Regions from separate parts of the Homo sapiens genome. Here regions 1, 2, 3, 4, 6 and 7 are each linked to region 5. Evidence: promoter capture Hi-C in 16 types of primary human blood cells and fetal thymus (Javierre and others, 2016). All regions are on one chromosome and are shown on one strand. The core of a region is centred on a gene start or on the middle of the fragment in contact, and the rest is flanking DNA. Distances in the headings are between cores, read along the strand shown.

What was found. The method cuts DNA at HindIII sites, captures the fragments that hold promoters and counts their contacts. A CHiCAGO score of 5 or more calls a contact.
Region 1: a fragment that was not itself captured here is called in contact with the fragment with the promoter of ALG2 in region 5 in 2 of 17 cell types (M2 macrophages and M1 macrophages); the score reaches 6.8 in M2 macrophages.
Region 2: a contact is called between a fragment that was not itself captured here and the fragment with the promoter of ALG2 in region 5, in 1 of 17 cell types (M1 macrophages). The highest score is 5.2, in M1 macrophages.
Region 3: a fragment that was not itself captured here is called in contact with the fragment with the promoter of ALG2 in region 5 in 2 of 17 cell types (fetal thymus and M2 macrophages); the score reaches 7.2 in fetal thymus.
Region 4: a contact is called between a fragment that was not itself captured here and the fragment with the promoter of ALG2 in region 5, in 4 of 17 cell types (fetal thymus, monocytes, naive B cells and 1 more). The highest score is 7.5, in fetal thymus.
Region 6: a contact is called between a fragment that was not itself captured here and the fragment with the promoter of ALG2 in region 5, in 2 of 17 cell types (M2 macrophages and total B cells). The highest score is 6.8, in M2 macrophages.
Region 7: a contact is called between a fragment that was not itself captured here and the fragment with the promoter of ALG2 in region 5, in 2 of 17 cell types (M2 macrophages and M1 macrophages). The highest score is 7.1, in M2 macrophages.

Annotation. Positions count from the first base shown.
Region 1 is chr9:99,931,239-99,934,054 of GRCh38, reverse strand. All of the region lies in intron 3 of STX17 (syntaxin 17), which reads right to left. Among named protein-coding and RNA genes, the nearest start is that of STX17, 26 kb to the right of the region's middle. The HindIII fragment of the contact is 1,691 bases long and covers 717-2,407 here.
Region 2 is chr9:99,873,637-99,876,572 of GRCh38, reverse strand. No RefSeq gene overlaps it. Among named protein-coding and RNA genes, the nearest start is that of STX17-DT, 31 kb to the left of the region's middle. The HindIII fragment of the contact is 1,532 bases long and covers 864-2,395 here.
Region 3 is chr9:99,831,532-99,834,369 of GRCh38, reverse strand. It overlaps NR4A3 (nuclear receptor subfamily 4 group A member 3), which reads right to left. Exons shown (of 8, transcript NM_006981.4): 4 at 1,552-1,681; 5 at 916-1,088. Among named protein-coding and RNA genes, the nearest start is that of NR4A3, 11 kb to the right of the region's middle. RefSeq lists an enhancer at 195-1,394. The HindIII fragment of the contact is 3,351 bases long and covers 1-2,838 here.
Region 4 is chr9:99,912,492-99,915,191 of GRCh38, reverse strand. STX17 (syntaxin 17) reads right to left here. Exons shown (of 8, transcript NM_017919.3): 2 at 1-14. Among named protein-coding and RNA genes, the nearest start is that of STX17, 7.2 kb to the right of the region's middle. The HindIII fragment of the contact is 980 bases long and covers 895-1,874 here.
Region 5 is chr9:99,220,407-99,223,306 of GRCh38, reverse strand. It overlaps ALG2 (ALG2 alpha-1,3/1,6-mannosyltransferase), which reads left to right and starts at 1,365. Exons shown (of 2, transcript NM_033087.4): 1 at 1,365-1,760. The coding sequence starts at 1,413. It overlaps SEC61B (SEC61 translocon subunit beta), which reads right to left and starts at 1,025. Exons shown (of 4, transcript NM_006808.3): 1 at 941-1,025; 2 at 664-761. The coding sequence starts at 943. RefSeq lists an enhancer at 956-1,275. The HindIII fragment of the contact is 2,183 bases long and covers 136-2,318 here.
Region 6 is chr9:99,852,337-99,855,176 of GRCh38, reverse strand. All of the region lies in intron 7 of NR4A3 (nuclear receptor subfamily 4 group A member 3), which reads right to left. Among named protein-coding and RNA genes, the nearest start is that of NR4A3, 32 kb to the right of the region's middle. The HindIII fragment of the contact is 4,775 bases long and covers 1-2,840 here.
Region 7 is chr9:99,983,904-99,986,603 of GRCh38, reverse strand. It overlaps ERP44 (endoplasmic reticulum protein 44), which reads left to right. Exons shown (of 12, transcript NM_015051.3): 11 at 1,535-1,637. Among named protein-coding and RNA genes, the nearest start is that of STX17, 79 kb to the right of the region's middle. The HindIII fragment of the contact is 801 bases long and covers 1,000-1,800 here.

The DNA.
Region 1 (2,816 bases), core at 313-2,812, 710 kb before region 5:
TCATATTCTGACTTACATTAACTTTTACTAAGGTTTTAAACTATTGTTTAAATACTTAATTTAACTTTTTGTGAATTCCTGTCTATGTAAGTTCCTTCAAGGTAGAAACTGTGATGTACTTTTCAGAATCCTCTATTATCAATTAGTATTGTTACTAAATATTAAGTATTTGGGAAGAAGAGCTGAGGAAGATGAAGCTTTGTAAAATATTCCTTTTATACTTTTGTATGGTAAGTGACAAAAATGGGGAAAATAATGCAATTACAATGTGTTTTAAATTAAACTAGCAAGTCAACAAATAAGCAGCTTTACTTCTGCCCAGATTCAAGAGAAGGGAAATTAGACTCCACCTATTGGTGGGGGAGTAGCAAGGTCATAATGTAGAAGGCCATGTGGGATGGGGGATATTTTTGTGGGTATCTTTAGAAAGTACAATGTACCACAACCTGTACGCAAAAAACTATAAAGATCCCCAAATATTAAAGAAGATAAATACAAATGCAAGAATATCCCATATTCACAGGCAGGAAAACTAGATATTGTAAAGATGTCAATTTTCTCTACCAATGCAACTCCCAACTTCCCAACAAGACTGTGTATGGACTTTGAAAAGCTGATTCTGAATTTCATATGGAGGACTAAAGAGCCAAGTATAGCCAAAACACTCCTGAAAAGGAAGGATACTGTGGAAGTATTGTACAATCAGATATCAAGCTTTATCTTAAAACTGTCATAATTAAGACAGTGTGTGGAATTTGGTGCAGAAATAGACTGACAAATGGAATAGAATATAAAGATCAGAGACATATGGAGTTACATGCATCTTTGGAATTACAATGTGCTTCAGAAGTAGCACCACAGAAATCAGGTAATAGTGTAACACACAAGTGATTTTCAAGATGGAATAAAATAAAATTTTATTGATGTCTACCTCATACCACCAATTCCAGATGGATTAAAGACTTGAATGTTAAAAGCAAAATATTTAAAACACTCAGTTAAATATATAAAGAAATATCTTCTTGAATCCTCCAAGAGAGGATTTCTTGAACAAGCCGCCAAAGTAGGAACCATAAAAGATTGATAATTTAAACTACATTTAAATTAAGAACTTATTTTTATCAAGATACCATAATGAATGTGACAATATAGCTCTTACTACGTAAATCTAATGATGATAAATCTAGAAAATCTGTTATAATTGTTGATGAGGTTATTTGTCCCAAAATAACTTTTACACTAACTAGCAAAGTAGAAATCTATACACAAAATTCAGAGCAGATATGAGTAAAACTCACCAAATACCTACATCTAACAATAGCTTCAATCTTACTACTCTAATGGCACCCATAAATCTTTTATGCCAGATGGAGGTCAATACGGTAAATATATACGCAAATTTTAAAAATCAGTAAACAAATACTTTGATCATAGCCAATGTCTCAACCAAATCATGTGATTTTTAAATGATAGATTAAACAGTGAAGATTGTAAGAAATCTAAGTCATAATAATCTCATTAAATCATTAACATGCTGAGTACCATTCAATAGACACCAAATCTTGCTGGGCACCAGGTGCTGCAGAATATACAAATAGTGGAGACATAGTCTCTGCTTGTTAGACCTATCATCTAATTAGCAAGCAGTAAATACAGCTATAGAGAGATAAGTCAAATTTCCATCTAAATCTCAAATCAATCTGTTTTCCTTCATCTCCATTATCTCTAAGCTACTAACATCTTTTTCTTGGACCTCTGTAACCCTTCCTAATGATCTCTTGAATTCATTTCATTCTATCACAATTTAATCACTATACTGCAGCTATAATAACCTTTCTGAATTCAAGAGGACCACAGATGTATTCTTTGGAGCAACTGACTCTAGATTCAGAAACACCAGGTACAGGGCTAAAAAGCCTGTACTGAATAAAGCCCAAAAGTCTTTATCTAATCTGCCTCTATAACTTTGTAAGATAAGCACCTACCTGCCGTAGGGGGAAAATGAGAATTCTTCTTCAGAAAACTAAATAAGAACAACCTCCAGATACTGATATTTGGAGGTATCCCTAAGGAAAACGCCAGCTTGCCCAAGCATCCTTAAGTGAAGTCCACCAGAAGACAAGCAATCTACTTTTTAATATTTCAGAAAAACAAACAAAAAAACCTATTACACCCATAGACAAAATGCTATCAAGAAAGGAAAAGAGAACAAGAAAAAGCTCTTGTAAACTAAATATCATAATAGCAGAAAAAAAGAATTCAAAGGAAAAAGGTAAAGAGAAACCTGAGGAAATCTTTTAGAAAACAGAGCGAAAATCAGACAAGCAACCCAAGAGTTCCAACATCCAATAGAACAGGGACTGCCAAATTTTTTCTACAAAGAACCAGACAGTAAATAGCTCAAGCTTTGTAGGCCATACAGTCTCTGTTGCAACTACTTAACTCTGCTGTTACCGTGTGAAAGCAGCCAAAGAAATGTGTAAGCAAATGGGATAGACAGAGGCCAGACATAGCCTCTGAATCAGTTTGCGGACCTTTAGAATTAAAGAAAAAAAAAAAAAGAGCAAAATGAGAAAACACAGAAGAATAAATGACCAAAGAAAAATCTAAGAAAATTACCCAGAACTAAAGCACATGAATTTTTAGAAAGAAACAGTCCAACACAATGACATCATCATCAAATTTCAGAATACCAGGGATGAACTAATCACAAAAGCTCCCAAAGAGGGAAAAAACAAAAAAACAAAACCAGGTCCTGTACAAAGACTGGAAAATCAGCTGGGCGCAGTAGCTCACGCCTGTAATCCCAGCACTTT
Region 2 (2,936 bases), core at 380-2,879, 650 kb before region 5:
CCATCCTCCAGCAATAATTCATATAGTAATGATTTGGTGGCTGATATGGTTTGACTCTGTGTCCCCATGCAAATCTCATCTTGAATTGTAATCCCCACATGTTGGGGGAGGAGCCTGGTAAGAGGTGATTGAATCATGGGGTGAACTTCCCCCTTGCTGTTCTCATAATAGTGAGTGAGTTCTTATGAGAGCTAGTTGTTTGAAGGTGTGTGGCACTTCCCCCTTCTCGCTCTCTCTCCTGCTCCGCCATGGTAAAGATGTGCTTGCTTCCCCTTTGCCTTCTGCCATGATTGTAAGTTTCCTGAGGCTTAACCATGCTTCCTGTGAAGCCTGCAGAACTGTAAGTCAATTAAACCTCTTTTCTTCATAAATTACCCAGTCTCAGATGATTCTTTATAGCAGTGTGAAAACAGACTAATACAGTGGTTTATGGAAATGTGCCTTCAGTCTTTACATTCTCTAGGGTAATGGTTCTCCAAATGTGGTCCCCTTCCCAACAAATTCATGGACTCCACTTCAGGCAACCAAATCAGAATCTCTGGTCACGAATATCAAGAAACTGTTTTAATAAGCTTTTCACATGTGATCCGAGCACTTTGGGAGACCGAGGTGGGCTGATCACAAGGTCAAGAGATCAAGACCATCCTGGCCAACATGGTGAAACCCCATCTCTACTAAAAATACAAAAATTAGCTGGGAGTGGGTGGTGCACGCCTGTAGTCCCAGCTACTTGGGAGGCTGAGGCAGGAGAATTGCTTGAACCCAGGAGGCAGAGGTTGCAGTGAGCTGAGATCGCAGCACTGCACCCCAGCCTGGCAATGGAGTGAGACTCCGTCTCAAAATAATTATAATAATAACAAGCTTTTCAGATGATTCCAATGAACATTAAAGATGAACATTGAAGTTTGAGGACTTAATAAATAAATGGCCTTTCTGTCCTGAGACTCATAGTAGTAGTTTAGCCTGGATGATTGGATGGAAGAGCCATTTACAGAGATTGGGGAAACAAATGGAAGAGCAAGTTTGGAAGGAGGTCATGAATTTGGGTCTGGTGTGTTTAATTTGAAGTACTTTTGGGATATCCAGGTGAAGGTATCTGGAGGCATCTGGAGCCTTGAGGTCTGGAGCTCAGAAGACAGGACTGAGTCGGAGATACAGATTTGGGAGTGGTAATTGGAGCCATGAATAAGACTGCTCAGGAGAATGGGAAGCATTAGTTTACCCTAGATAATAGCATTATTTTAAGAGAGTTGGGGAGGGGTCCTGAGAGAATGAAGAATCTGAGGACAGTCATTCTTCCTTGTGAGTGACTTGCATTGGAATGTTTGTCTCATCTTCTCCTCTGGATTATAAGCTCCTTAAAGGCAGGGACTGTGTAAACTTTAATAAGTCCCTCAAACAAAAGTACATTGCTGCACAGGCTGTGAATAATCAGTGAATTCCTTCCAGGATTCTGCTTTGCAGAAATCCAATGTGATCAGAGCCACCAGCAAGATGTTTTCCCAAAAATCACTTCTATCATTTCCCAATGGACAGTATGGCAGATTAAAAATAAGTGAATAAATAAAGGGTATCATGTGTAATCCACTGATATCTATGCTAATCACATTAATCAGAGTGAATTAATTATACCTGAAAACAGATGCAAAGTTAAATTCCTCAGAAAATCAATTCATTAAACTCATATTGGAATGCACAGTCAACAACCCCCATGTTTAGAAACTATCAGCATGATTTGTGGCAACTTCTGATTTACTAACGAAACTGCTTAAAACATTTTTAAAGGCAATTACAATTACTGTCTGGCATTTGATGGAAAGAAATCTTGTCAGCATTGTCCCTTGTGTGTCAACTGTCACAATTTTCTAAAAATTTTGAGGGGAAAAATAGGCAGGCTCTACTATTTGCTAGCCTCGATTAGGGTTAATTCAATGTGTGTCTGCAAATAATAGTGTTTAATGTAATCTCTCTAATTACAGATAAAACGCATTTTCAGTCATGCTCATCACTGACAGTATTTTGGGATAAGTTAAACTGACAGCTGCTTTCCGAAGGAAAGGAAAAAAACAAACCTTCCTTGGGGTTGTGTTGATTTTCTCTCTCTCTCTCCGCCCCACCCCCCTTTCTTTTACATTAAAGTTGAGAAAAAGATGAAACTTGATTCTTTGGCTCTGGATACCAATTTTGGAAATTATGACATCATCTATTTCTTGGGAATTTGACATGTTTTCCAGCTCCTACTCCCATCAACGAATATCTAACTTGAATTCACTCAGCAAGCATTTTCTAAGGGTTTCCAGTGAACCAAATATTGTGCTAGGCAGTAAGGGAATCAAGAAGGAATGATTCTACCAAACCTGCCCCCTGCAATTGGCCCCATGAGTCAAGTCAAGCTTCCTCCTATACCAGACTTGATAGTCATAGAGCCCTTTTATTCTCAGTCCCTCCAGAGTGAAACTATTCAAGTCACAATATTTTCTGAAGGACCACAGCTGACTGGATCAGGGACTACCCAAGGACAGCTACTCCTCAGATTGTCCAGGCATCTGTAATGTGGCCTCGCATGACAAATTGAGCCAGATCAGTCAGATTTTCTTTCTCAGGAATAGAAATTGGAAAATACTAGATGAGGTGGTTAGGGGTGAAGGTGAAATTAGAAGGCAGTAAGAGAAAAACTACACAATAGAAAGAATTAAGACCTTGAGAGGGCAGGCATCATTGGGTCTATGAGACTATGAGGAAGCCGAAACACAGGGCCTAGTTTAAGGTTGAATGAATCAAAGGATGAATAAATAAACAAATAATTGTGACCTAAGATGTCTTTGGCTTTTTTTGGTAGCCTCAAAACATGAGTGATTCACGCTGAGTCACTATCCTTGATACTCCTGACTATTTTTTCACCTATGCTGTAGATGAACCATGTTTCTTGCATACTG
Region 3 (2,838 bases), core at 165-2,664, 610 kb before region 5:
CCTTCTCTTCCCTCTTCATTGAGACCCTGTTTTGCTAGAAGTTTAGTTTTCTAAGTCCTTTAAAGAAATTGCCTTACAGAGCTGTTTATTCATTTGCTCAGGAAATCCTTTCTCATGGTTCTTCTCTGTGTTATCCAAATTTTGAGGAATTTGCAGGGTTCAGACTGATGGGATTTTACTATATCCCATATGAAATAAAAATGTTGATATGTTTTGGTTGACTTAACTATAACAACACCAATCGTCATTTATGGTCTTAAAAACATTTTCACAACCATCATTCTTGTGTGACTGGTGTTCAGAACACCCCTCTGAGGTTAAATATTGTAGCCATTTCCACTGTAGGCAGGAGAGAGCCAAAAGCAGGAACCAGGTGACACAGGCAGGAAGTAGCAGAGGTGGCGTTCCATCCCAGTTCTCCTGACAACTGATGTCACAGCCAGAGCTCGCTTCTCTCCACCAATGGTCTAATCCCTCTGAATAAGCAGCAGGTCAATCAATGCTGATGCAATTGGATAAACTGCTTAGTAATAACTTGAGGCTCACCCAGATGGTTTGAACACAATATGAAAAAAAACAGTAGTCACTTTGTCTAGATCACGAGATAAATCTACAAATTGTAGTTTGTCTGTGCAGATTTTCATTGGCACAACCACCAGGAATCCTGCAACAATGTGTATGACAGGTGCAGCACTGTCAGGGTCACTTGTTAAGGCATTTAGAGATTCAATAAGGCAAAAATTATTTGCTGCAATGGATGCACTGAATTGCTAAATGAAGCGAGAAATATAGAAAAAGTATGAAAACTGTCTAACATGGTGCCAGACACAAAATCATTCAATCAACTCTTATTACTAGTAGCCATAAATAGAGACCCTGATCATTCATTTGAAAGCAGGAAATCATAAAACTTACTCTGGAATAATCAAGATCTCTGGGTGTTGAGTCTGTTAAAGCTCGGACAAGGGCATTCATCATGCAGATTGGAGGAGAAGGTGGAGAGGGCTGAGAAGGTTCCTGTTGTAATGGGCTCTTTGGTTTGGAAGGCAGACGACCTCTCCTCCCTTTCAGACTATCTGTACGGACAACTGATGCCAAAAGAGACAAAGAAAACAATCTTCAAAGATTATGGAATGAACGACCATAAATCGCAAAAAGGAATAAAAACACATTACAGTTGAGCAATCATTAATGAGACCAACCATTTAAAAGTGGTAATAAGTTTGGAATAATATTCACACAATGATTTCATGAGAGTTGAAACAAGCAGCATAAAAGCCACCGATATTTACATTTGGTAATGAATTAGCCCTAAAAGTCTCCTTCTTAAATAGAACAAAGATGTATGTATACAAGTCCTCTGTTAATTTTGAGAAATTAGAATAAATAGTCCTCAGTTATTTTAAAATGTAGATATATATGATAAAAATAAAATGTTGAAAGGAAAAAGGAACTAGAAAAATTCACCATCCCAATGTAAATATTAGCTTTTTTTCACTGATTTCTGATAATATGTATAAGCAAACTGGGTAAAAAGCATTATATCCATACCTTCTTTTACCATTCCAACACTGAGACACTTCTGAAATCGACAGTACTGACATCGGTTTCGACGTCTCTTGTCTACTGGGCAGTTTTTATTTGCCAGGCAAACATATTTTGCATTTTTCTGCACTGTTCTCTGAGAAAATATAATACAAGATAGTCAACTGATAGTTTCTGGAAAGAGGTAGGACCTGACAAGATGTATTTTAATTACAATGTGAAAAGCGACAGTGCAATTCGTATAATTCGATAAATTTAATTTCCTAAAACGCTAGCCTGCAGGAAAAACAATTTTATTAGTGTTAGCTGCTGACAATGAAAATCATCTCGGATTGTTCTAAAGCAAGTCTCAGGAGACACCCAACTCTGAATGATAAAATCATATCTGAAATTACCAGGTCAACATATCATACCTTGGAGAATTAGATTATCTCCACTTTTAATATCCCTTTGGGAACAATTTTCTACTTGTTCCACTCCCCTGATTATTGCTGACCTTATTAAAATAAAATCAAAATTATCTGGGATGTACTTTGTTTGCTATCACTATTGTAAGTCAAATATCACAGTAACTGGCTTTGTTACCCAACAGAGATGAAATCATAAAAACCAAAATCAGGATTTTTCTAATTAAAACATATAGGAAATAATGTTTTAATGCAAAAAAACTAACTTAATCAGCCTGTATAGCTTATTTTATCTTTAAAGACCATATATGATAAACAGTCCATTCCTGATTTTTCAAAGCAAAATCTTAAAAGTAGTTATTACAAATCATTATTATATCCAAGGAAGAAAACAAAAAACCCCAAGGTACAAACGAAAAATGAGACAAAGAAAGATATATGACAGCCATATATTTTCAGTGAAAATTCCTATTAATAGGTCATTTCATAAATGTCTATTGACATAGACACAGTAACCATATTGTAAAAAAAATCATAAAACTTAAGGTTGGATAGAAAAATGATGTTGTATTTTTCAGAATCCATATAATTTGGAAATGACACATGGAGAAATAAACATATTTCGTCCTCCAAATTTAAACAAATGCTTGCTTTTTAAATTGAAAACATTTGTGCAAATGAACGTATTTTTACCACTTAGGGTGAAACTGTTCAGAAATTACCTGGATCTATACAACTCCAAATAGAGCAGAAAGTTGAAATTTATTTGGGAAGCCTGGGCTGCATTAATAAAAAAAGAAAATAAATCCAGGTAACTTGGGCTTTATGATCTATTTTGTGTTCAAACATCTAGATTTGCTTTTTAACATTTACTTCCAGTCATTCT
Region 4 (2,700 bases), core at 135-2,634, 690 kb before region 5:
TCATATAGAAAAACCTAAAAGAAAAATATTTCTTTAAGAATGTTTTCAAATCTGTTTCCACTATTTTTAAAAGCCAACGATTAGTTTTACAATTTATTCTAAATCAATAAATAGAATATTTCTAATGCTGACCTTGAGTGACTTGTTTTTTTCTTTATGAAACCACTGATTTTTAAATCTTTTTCTCTTTACAAAAATTATATTTTAGAATGTTCAGACAATATAAATAAATGAAGAATTAAATAAAGTCAGCAGTCATCTCCTCACCTTTTACAAAGAGTACAAAATGTACTCTTTACATTTTGGCATACGTCTCTCCAGGTCTTTTTCTATGTAAGTAGGTATGTATGTATATAAATACTTTTAAAAAAGCTAGGAGTATACTGTCCAAGTTTTCATTTTCTGATCTATCTTGGACATTGAATAACCTTTTTAAAAAAGGTATCAAATGGCTTAACACTGATGCTTGTATCAAACTTCATGTCTAATGTCATCATAATGTAACTTTGTAATTACACAACTTCAAATATATGATAACATAATATGCAACTTTTCTCATTGATGTGCTTTAAACTGCCTCTTCCATTTTCAATAAAGTGATTAGTATTGCCTACAACTGATTCAAAAAACCAGTGACAGAGCTGGAATAAGAACCCAGATTTTCTGAAATTACATTGAAATACTTTTTCCACTTCACCAGTAGTTTCCTACTAGTGTTCCAGAAAGTCCAAGGGTATGCATTTGGGGCCAGAGTACAAGCGTAGGGGCTAGAGGTGAGTAGGTTCCAGGACTCCACTCCCTACTTCAGTTGTAGAAACTTTACTTACAACTATTTTATGAATTGGAGCTTATCAGAGCTTATATAAATAATGGGCTTCACAGCTTAACCAAGCTTGAAAGCCACCATTGTACACCATGCTTTCATGCCATTTCATTAGCCACAACCTCACCCATGTTTAAAAAATTTTAAGTTGAGTATGTTAATACTGCTGAGTTATGCTGTCTTAGTCCAGGGTCTATAAAGATAGGAATTCACATACAGACTTTGTGGAGCCACTGAATCTTTATGAAAAATTGTGAATGAAGGGGCCGGGTACGGTGGCTCATGTCTGTAATACCAGCACTTTGGGAGGCCAAGGCGGGAGGACCACTTGAGCCCAGGAGTTCATGGCCAGCCTGGGCAACATGCCAAAATCCCATCTCTACAAAAAAAAAAAAAGAAAAAAAAAGTGAATATAGTTTATTTTGGAGAATAGAGTCCATTGTTTCAAGGGATTCTCAGAGATCTATCATCCCCAAAACATTAAATATTTATCCCCTTTCTTTCACAGTTGAAAATCTTGATGTGTTGGTTATATAGACTGCCTCCAATACCTACCCATTAGTAACTTGGTTTTTATGTTTGATACAAGGCTCAAAAGTCAAAAAGGAAAATCTCCAGGTACAAAAACAAAGAGGGTAAAACAGGTGCAACAGTGAATGGAAACTGGGGACATATGGAGAAATTCATTACCAAAAGAGACCATCCACAGACCCAACAAAACAGGAAAATTCATACCTAATGGACGAAAGATAATAAAATAATTTTAAAAAGAAACTAAAGTAAGTATATTTTTAAATATCCAAAAACATTCTATTCCAAAAAGGAACAGAATCTTTTAAAAAAATAGATATTATGAAACAGTAAGAGGCCAGCCTGAATATAAAACAAGTAAAACTTCTAGAAATGAAAATCTCAAAAGATGTGTTAAACAGTAAATTATATAGATAAGAAACAATTATTGATTGGAAGAAATCACTCAGAACACAGAGGAATAAAAAGATGAAAAGTATAAAAAAGAAGATAAAAGACATAAAGGATAAAATCAGAAGCTTAATAACAAGTAGAAGTCCCAGAAAGAAAGAACAAAGAAAACAGTAAGAAGGAATTATTCAAAGAGAATATACTGATAATTAAAATGTAAGACCTCAAACTGAAAAAGCACATCAGCCTCAAGTAGCATACATTAAAAAGAAACCAAATTTGCCTAAATACATGGAAGGGAAATTGCAAAACATTAAAGAACAAGAATCATTAAAAAAATGAGACATAAAAGACTGACAAAGCAATAATATATTGCTTTTAAAAGCAAGATATTAAAAGACAGAAATACCTTCAAAGTGCTGAGAGAGTTGGTATATTCCCAGGTAAATTATCATTTAAAATGAAAGCAAAATAATCATTTTCAGACATACAAGGACTAAGAGAGTTTATTACCAAGCCCCTCATTAAAAGTACTTAAAGGAATATTTCAACAATAAAGAAAATAAACCCAAAGGAGTGGAATAGCAAGGAGCAATGAATAGAATAAACTGTTAACGGATAGAATAAATGGGTGGATGAAAGAACAAAGAAAATAAAACATTTATTTTGAATAGTGTGATGAAGTATAATAAAAATGTTTCCATGTAAATAATTTTCTATAATTACGTAGATGCTTCACAATTTTACAAATTGGCTATTATTGGCTATTTAGGTTGTTTCTAATTTTCCACTATTATAAACTACAGTGTAATTACCCTGCTTACACATAAATCCATACTGCTGCCTATAATTATTTCTTTAAAACAATCAACAAAGACACAACCTGTATAAAGGGAGAAAATATTTGCCAACTAGTCATCCAACAAGGGACTAATATCTAGAATGTATGAGAAACT
Region 5 (2,900 bases), core at 116-2,615:
ACAAGTAACAGAAACTACGCAGAAGAGTAACAGCAGAGCGAACGATGGACTGGAAAGCAAACAGCCTGAAGAAAAGGGTTAAGTAGCAAATGCAAAGCAGTAGAAAGGGAAAAGGAAAGAGCTTATGAGAAAGCTTTCAAGCAGAGTTTAAAGTCTGGCATATGACTAGAGAGAGAAAGAGCATAAGAAAAATCCAAGATGACGCTGACGTTTCTGGCTCTGAGTAAATGAGTGTACAACAGTGCCATATGGAAGTAAGGAGATATAATTGAGAGTGAGAGAGCTGAGCTGAAAAGAGACTAAGTTTTGTGTAGGACGAGTTATCTGTAGGACAGATTGCTTATGGGGCCGCCAGATGGAAATGTGAGTGCAAACCTCAGGTCCAGAGACACCAGTTTAATGACATCGGTTTTCTCAAAGTTATCTCTGACTCTATTCCAGTTTGTTAACTTTCCTTTTTTAAGAGTAGTGCCCTAAACTGAGCAACGAGAAAAAAAATGTCGCCTTCCTCCCAAAAGGCCTTTAACTACTCCCACGGCCACGTCACTAGAAGCTCATTTTGCCTTTGTCAATCTTCACATGCTAGGGTCTCCACCCCAGAATCAGCGAGGTTCTGGGTCCTATCTCCGAGTCTGGAAGCGAACGAACTGCAGGGTTCCTTACCTCTGCCGGACAGTGGATCCCGCCGCCCGGGCGGCCACTGCTTTGCTGGGAGAGCGCCCTGAGGATCCCACGTTAGTGCCACTGGGGGTCGGACCAGGCTGTAGAGGGAGACAAGCAGACAGACGGGTGAGCGCGGCAGGCCTGCCCCAGAACCCCGGCCTAGACACCCACACCCGAGGCTGGGGGAAGCAAGGGAGCTACAGAGGAAAAGCACGGCGCAAAGCAGGAGGAGTCAGGGCTTCTGGGAGAGGCGGGGATCATGGAAGGGCCGCCATACCATATTGGAGATGAGGGTGGCAAGGCGCTGACGCGGACGGATAGAAAGTTACGGAGCCCCCGAAAGACCGGCAGCTGGCGAGACTGACTCAGGCCCCGCCCCCGGACTTGCAGGCAAGGTCCTCTCTGACCCCAGGGACGCCTGGGTCGTCTCACGATATGCCTGTAGACAGTCTGCTACAGACAACTTAGTTACCTGCTGTATGGGAAGTAGAGACCTCCGGCCTCCTTCCTTTGGATCACAACGTCCTTCAGAAAGTCCAATCCCTACCGAAGGAAAAATATAACCGGGGTCAGACAAGATATTTTCTCAGGCAGTTACTAGACCCTCACAGATTTGCGCTGATGTGGCCTAACTGACGCACGTACGGCAGGGCGGGGTCGGCCCGCAGTGGCCAGCTGGGAGCTACGAGCGCGGAGCTTGCGCAGAAGACCCCCATCAGGGTGCGGGGTGCAGTTGCGGCTCCAGGGCCATGGCGGAGGAGCAGGGCCGGGAACGGGACTCGGTTCCCAAGCCGTCGGTGCTGTTCCTCCACCCAGACCTGGGCGTGGGCGGCGCTGAGCGGCTGGTGTTGGACGCGGCGCTGGCGCTGCAGGCGCGCGGGTGTAGCGTGAAGATCTGGACAGCGCACTACGACCCGGGCCACTGTTTCGCCGAGAGCCGCGAGCTACCGGTGCGCTGTGCCGGGGACTGGCTGCCGCGAGGCCTGGGCTGGGGCGGCCGCGGCGCCGCCGTCTGCGCCTACGTGCGCATGGTTTTCCTGGCGCTCTACGTGCTGTTCCTCGCCGACGAGGAGTTCGACGTGGTAGTGTGCGACCAGGTGAGGCGGCCGCGGGGCCGGCTGCGCGAGTGCGGACCTCGCCGTGGAGGGCGGCCGCGGGCATGACCCCTGAGAGAAGACCTTCCCTGTCTGCGGTTCGCAAAGATCGGAACTGACATGGAGAAGTCAGGGTTGTGAGCGAGCCTGTGGTTCTCTAACTTTAGTGTGGGCCCATTTAAAGTTGCAGATTGCTGGGGTTCCATCCTCCAGGAAGTTTTCATCCAGGTGCCCTGAGGTGGGGCCCAGACATCTGCATTTTAACTGGGTCATAGGGTGATTCCGAGGTAGATAGTCTTTGGGGCTCTGAGAAACGCTGGTATTAGAAGTCAGCTTCAGTCACCTTTTACTAATGAGTAACTCGCGTGTTGTCTTCCCGCTTACCTGTTATTTTTGTTGACTCTCCTTTCAGGCCATTTGCATCCCACTGTCCTTGTGTTCGGAGCCAGGCCACACCGTCCTCAGCAGTGTCATGTGTTAAAAACGCCAAGCTGAATATATCATGCCCCTATTAAAACTTGTACATGGCTCCCCATTGGTTTTTGGAGAAAAGTTCAAGCTTTTTACCTTGGTAAATAATGTCCACCTGGATCTGCCCTGTAGCTATTCTTGACTCTTTCCTTCGTGCATTTTTCCCCATCCTAAAAAAGATGACTTTAAAAAGTAACATTTACTCGATTAAAAATTTAGTAGTATAGAAGGATGTAACCTAAAAGCCCCGTCCTATTCTACTCCCTGAAGATAGCCACCGTTAAGTTTCTCTTGTATTTTTTCAGAAGTTGTGGTGACACCAGCCTGTGTCTTTTCATAGGTATATCTATATCTTCTTATTGGTACATAATTGGTATTATGACATACCTACTATTAGGCATCTTTTTCAGCAAAAATTTATTTATTTATTTATTTATTTTGAAACGGAGTCTTGCTCTGTCTCCCAGGCTGGAGTGCAGTGGCGCGATCTCGGCTCACTGCAACCTCCGCCTCCAGAGTAGCTGGGAGTACAGGTGCGCGCCCCACGCCCGGCTAATTTTTTCTATTTTTAGTAGAGATGGGGTTTCACCATGTTGGCCAGGCTGGTCTCGAACTCCTGACCTCGCGATCCGCCCACCTCGGCCTCCCAAAGTGCTGGGATTACAGGCATGA
Region 6 (2,840 bases), core at 199-2,698, 630 kb before region 5:
TCAATGTACAAAAATCACAAGCATTCTTATACACCAACAACAGACAAACAGAGAGCCAAATCATGGGTGAACTCCCATTCACAATTGCTTCAAAGAGAATAAAATACCTAGGAATCCAACTTACAAGGGATGTGAAGGACCTCTTCAAGGAGAACTACAAACCACTGCTCAAGGAACTAAAAGAGGACACAAACAAATGGAAGAACATTCCATGCTCATGGGTAGGAAGAATCAATATCGTGAAAATGGCCATACTGCCCAAGGTAATTTACAGATTCAATGCCATCCCCATCAAGCTACCAATGACTTTCTTCACAGAATTGGAAAAAACTACTTTAAAGTTCATGTGGAACCAAAAAAGAGCCCGCATTGCCAAGTCAATCCTAAGACAAAAGAACAAAGCTGGAGGCATCACACTACCTGACTTCAAACTATACTACAAGGCTACAGTAACCAAAACAGCATGGTACTGGTACCAAAACAGAGATATAGATCAATGGAACAGAACAGAGCCCTCAGAAATAATGCCGCATATCTACAACTATCTGATCTTTGACAAACCTGAGAAAAACAAGCAATGGGGAAAGGATTCCCTATTTAATAAATGGTGCTGGGAAAACTGGCTAGCCATATGTAGAAAGCTGAAACTGGATCTCTTCCTTACACCTTATACAAAAATCAATTCAAGATGGATTAAAGATTTAAACGTTAAACCTAAAACCATAAAAACCCTAGAAGAAAACCTAGGCATTACCATTCAGGACATAGGCGTGGGCAAGGACTTCATGTCCAAAACACCAAAAGCAATGGCAACAAAAGACAAAATTGACAAATGGGATCTAATTAAACTAAAGAGCTTCTGCACAGCAAAAGAAACTACCATCAGAGTGAACAGGCAACCTACAACATGGGAGAAAATTTTCGCAACCTACTCATCTGACAAAGGGCTAATATCCAGAATCTACAATGAACTCAAACAAATTTACAAGAAAAAAACAAACAACCCCATCAAAAAGTGGGCGAAGGACATGAACAGACACTTCTCAAAAGAAGACATTTATGCAGCCAAAAAACACATGAAGAAATGCTCATCATCACTGGCCATCAGAGAAATGCAAATCAAAACCACTATGAGATATCATCTCACACCAGTTAGAATGGCAATCATTAAAAAGTCAGGAAACAACAGGTGCTGGAGAGGATGCGGAGAAATAGGAACACTTTTACACTGTTGGTGGGACTGTAAACTAGTTCAACCATTGTGGAAGTCAGTGTGGCGATTCCTCAGGGATCTAGAACTAGAAATACCATTTGACCCAGCCATCCCATTACTGGGTATATACCCAAATGAGTATAAATCATGCTGCTATAAAGACACATGCACACGTATGTTTATTGCGGCACTATTCACAATAGCAAAGACTTGGAACCAACCCAAATGTCCAACAATGATAGACTGGATTAAGAAAATGTGGCACATATACACCATGGAATACTATGCAGCCATAAAAAATGATGAGTTCATATCCTTTGTAGGGACATGGATGAAATTGGAAACCATCATTCTCAGTAAACTATCGCAAGAACAAAAAACCAAACACCGCATATTCTCACTCATAGGTGGGAATTGAACAATGAGATCACATGGACACAGGAAGGGGAATATCACACTCTGGGGACTGTGGTGGGGTCGGGGGAGGGGGGAGGGATAGCATTGGGAGATATACCTAATGCTAGATGACACATTAGTGGGTGCAGCGCACCAGCATGGCACATGTATACATATGTAACTAACCTGCACAATGTGCACATGTACCCTAAAACTTAGAGTATAATAAAAAAAAAAAAAAAAAAAGAAATTCCCTAACACAATGTGTATATTCAGTTGCAGGGATGCATGAACACTTTTATGGATTCTTAGCAAGACAGCTGGCTCTTCATGGAAGTGTGTAAAACAAATAATAACAGTGAAGGTTTGTCTAATTTTTTTTCTGCATAGTACATATTAGTTCATTCAATTTTTATAAGAAACCTGAAAGTAGACATCTTTAACCCTGTGAGAAGGAAGGAAATTGAGATTCAGAGAGGGTAAGGAACTTGTCCAAGATTGCAAAGACAGCACATTTCAGGGTGAAGACCTGAACTCAGATCTCCGGTCTCTAAATCCTGTGGCCTCTCCCCTCTCCCACCATTTTTGTTTTTAACTATTTTGCCCCGCTAAGTTTGATATTTAGTTTTCCTTGCAATGTAGCTGATGGCTTTATCTGATGCAAAAGCAGGGGTAACCAGGTAACCATTTACAGTGAGCAGTGGAGCTCTGGAAAGACAGATGGTGGAGGGTGTGCCGTGGTCAGCCACCTGTCTAGTCCTGCTGTGTCACTGTTTCACTACTTTCTGCCATGGTTCTGCCCTCCTTCCTCCTTCTCAGTCTTAGAGGTCGTGTTTCAATAAGACCAGGAAAAAGACTAGAGTCAGACGAGAAAGGAGTCATTTTCTCACCTGAGAGATGACCTGAGTAGGGAAAAGAAAGCCATGGGGAACAACAAAATGGCATTTGAGCACTTGAGATTCCCTCTGCCATCTGGTTCAAAACTATCTTTCCAATCTTATTTCCCCTATTTCTGTACAGGAAAAGCGTTTTGCTCTGAGGTTAGGTCATCACATCAAGCCAGAAGGTAAATATCACATAGAATTAGTTTTATCCCTGAAAATCATTTAACTTTCCCAAAAGCACAAGACATCATCTCACCACTCATCACCAGAGGCAGAGAAACCATGACCTACAGTGGATTCATGCTCACTCCAGGACATACAGTCATCAAATGCAATAGCCTGCACTC
Region 7 (2,700 bases), core at 151-2,650, 760 kb before region 5:
GATAAAAAGTAAAAGAAACTGGTAATATTAACTACAAGCCAGCTATTGTTTGCTACCAAAAAAATAATGATTTTAAAAGTCAATCAATTCTACCCAAGGAATTAAAGTGTATATGGACCTGCATTTTAATTCTTGTAACAGAATGAAAAAGTGTTTCTATTTAAAATATATAATTAATTTTTTAAAGCACCAAGATCTCAGAAGGCAGACAATTCGTATGAGCAGAGATATAAATTCAGACAAGCAATGAAAAAAATGCTTAATTTGTGAAGAAATGTAAATTAAAATGCAGGTATCTTTTACTTATCAAATTAGCAAAACCAATTTTAATTTAAAAAAGACATGCTTGGCAAGACTTTAAAGAACAAACAGGTAGACAGATAGTAAAAACCAACTGATGTTTTATAGGTATAATTTGCTCACACTTGGTCAAAAGCTCTTATTTGTTAACCCAGTAATCCTACTTTATTGTATATAACTCAAGGAAATATTACAAAGAAGAAAGCCTGGTACATAAATTTGTTTAGCTCAGTATGGTGGTGTCTGCTACAGTGCATTGTTTCTGTGCTGCAGATTTGCTCATACATGATTGGTAATTAAGAGAATAGTGTCCATAGAAAGTGAAGTTGTGTCAGTTTATATATCATTATCCTCAGAATATCCTGAAGCCATCAGAATAAGCTTTTTCGTAAAGAGAATGCCGCAAGGGTGTATGAAGATCTCCAAAACAAAACAACTGAAAATCCTGGGGAAGTCCCCTTGTTAGTGTAAATAAAAGCTAGTTTAATGATCTTGAGAAGTGCTTTGCTTTTCACAATATTAAGCTATCCAATGAAGTTGCATGTGTGGTTTGAAGACATTATGAAGACATTTGCCTCTATGTTTAGGAAAAAAAACATGAAAATGCTATGCCCTGGTTCAGGTTAATTTGATGAAATTGGTTTCACTGTCTAGTGAAGGCCCTTAAGGACCCGAACCTCAAAAGTAGGCTCACAAGCTTTACGTTAAGGCTGCAGAGGATCACCTGGTTGACACTAGGTTTAAATGGTGGTGGACATTGGATGGTGCTAATATTTTTGTTATAGGTTCGCAGTAGTGCTTTGGTTACAAAGCTGCATAGTTTTCAGTGGTTAGCCCCTAACTATTTTTCCCTTGAGCCCTGTTATTTTTAGTGTGATGTTGCAGAACAAAGTTTTTTTTTAGTTACATATATGTAATTTAGGAAAATATATAAAGTGCCCATTAATAAAAAATGGTTAATTTGGGGTACAGCATCTTGATAGACTATAATGTGCCTTAATGATAAGCATGGAAATTTTTCTATGAAACAAGTACAGGAATTAGAATACAAAACTGAGTATCTGGATACTATGCTTACAACTGTGTAAAAATGTTTCACACATACCTGGCCTGCAATAGTTGTGGTAGGATGGTGGGACTATAGGTTAGCAAAAGTTTTTTTAATACTGTGAAGTTGGTAAAATAGAGATAAGTCCATTTTAACAGTTTACATTTTATTTGACTCTGGTTTTAGAATTCCTGGAAAACTCAAGCAATTCGTATTTGACTTACATTCTGGAAAACTGCACAGAGAATTCCATCATGGACCTGACCCAACTGATACAGCCCCAGGAGAGGTAGGACTCCTGTTTATTTTTCAATGAGAACTCTTTTTTTCCCTTTTTCAGTTAGCCTCAAAGAGGGTCTGAAGTTCTTGCATCAGCTTGAGCTTCAGCTTCTGAATATTTGTGTAGAGAAATTCTGAGTAGAAATTAACCTTTTAAATTAATTTTTAAAGCTTTAGGTCTTCAGAAAAGTTGAAAGAATATTATAACGTAGTTTCTTGATTGTATAAAAGTGTTCTGATGTGACCTCTGTGGAATATGGCTATAACAGTTAAATATAGTTGGCTTCAAATGGGAATAGGAAATAGGAATCTAAAGCAGATAAATCAGTGAAGAAATCAGTGGATTCCAATAACTATCCAAGCCTTCCTCTGTGGCTGGAAGATTGACCACACTATAAAGAAAGTAATGATTTGTTATTCTTGCTAAATCATTCTAAGAGCCTTCACAAATACACTATTCATAATGCTCAAAACCTTACAGTTTAATGCAGCTTTCCCATTTGTGATTTAGAATACTTGACAACTATTTTATCAAAATTTTATGTTCTTTTATGTTTTTTTTTACCTGAGAATTTTACTGTTTCCACCTTGTAACTTCTGTTACAAGTAATTTCTATGTTCCTACTGTACTAAACAGCCCTAAGTTTGCATTTTGATAGATTATGATTTCTATCATGCCTATTACCATGATACCGAGAGGGAAGATATGTACCAAAACCCTCTATTTCATATGCTCAGAACTTAAATCCATTATTTTGCCTATAAAACCTCTATTTATAAAAGGAAAATAAAAACTGAGTTTTTCTTTACCTTATTTAAGAGTGAGATTAGGTTCAGAGGCAAGAATTCCCTATAGGAATCCAACAACATGCTTTTTCCTTTAAAAATTAGGTCAGATTTTTGATAATTAACAACTATAGGAGGCAAACTTGTTGGCTATAACCCAAAGGTGATTATTTTCCTCAGAAAAGAAGGCCTGCATAGTATTTTATCAGATTAGGAAAAGATGTCATTTACCGTTATTGTATTATCCTGATTTGTTTCAATTTCCTCATTAGACAGTGAACTTACAT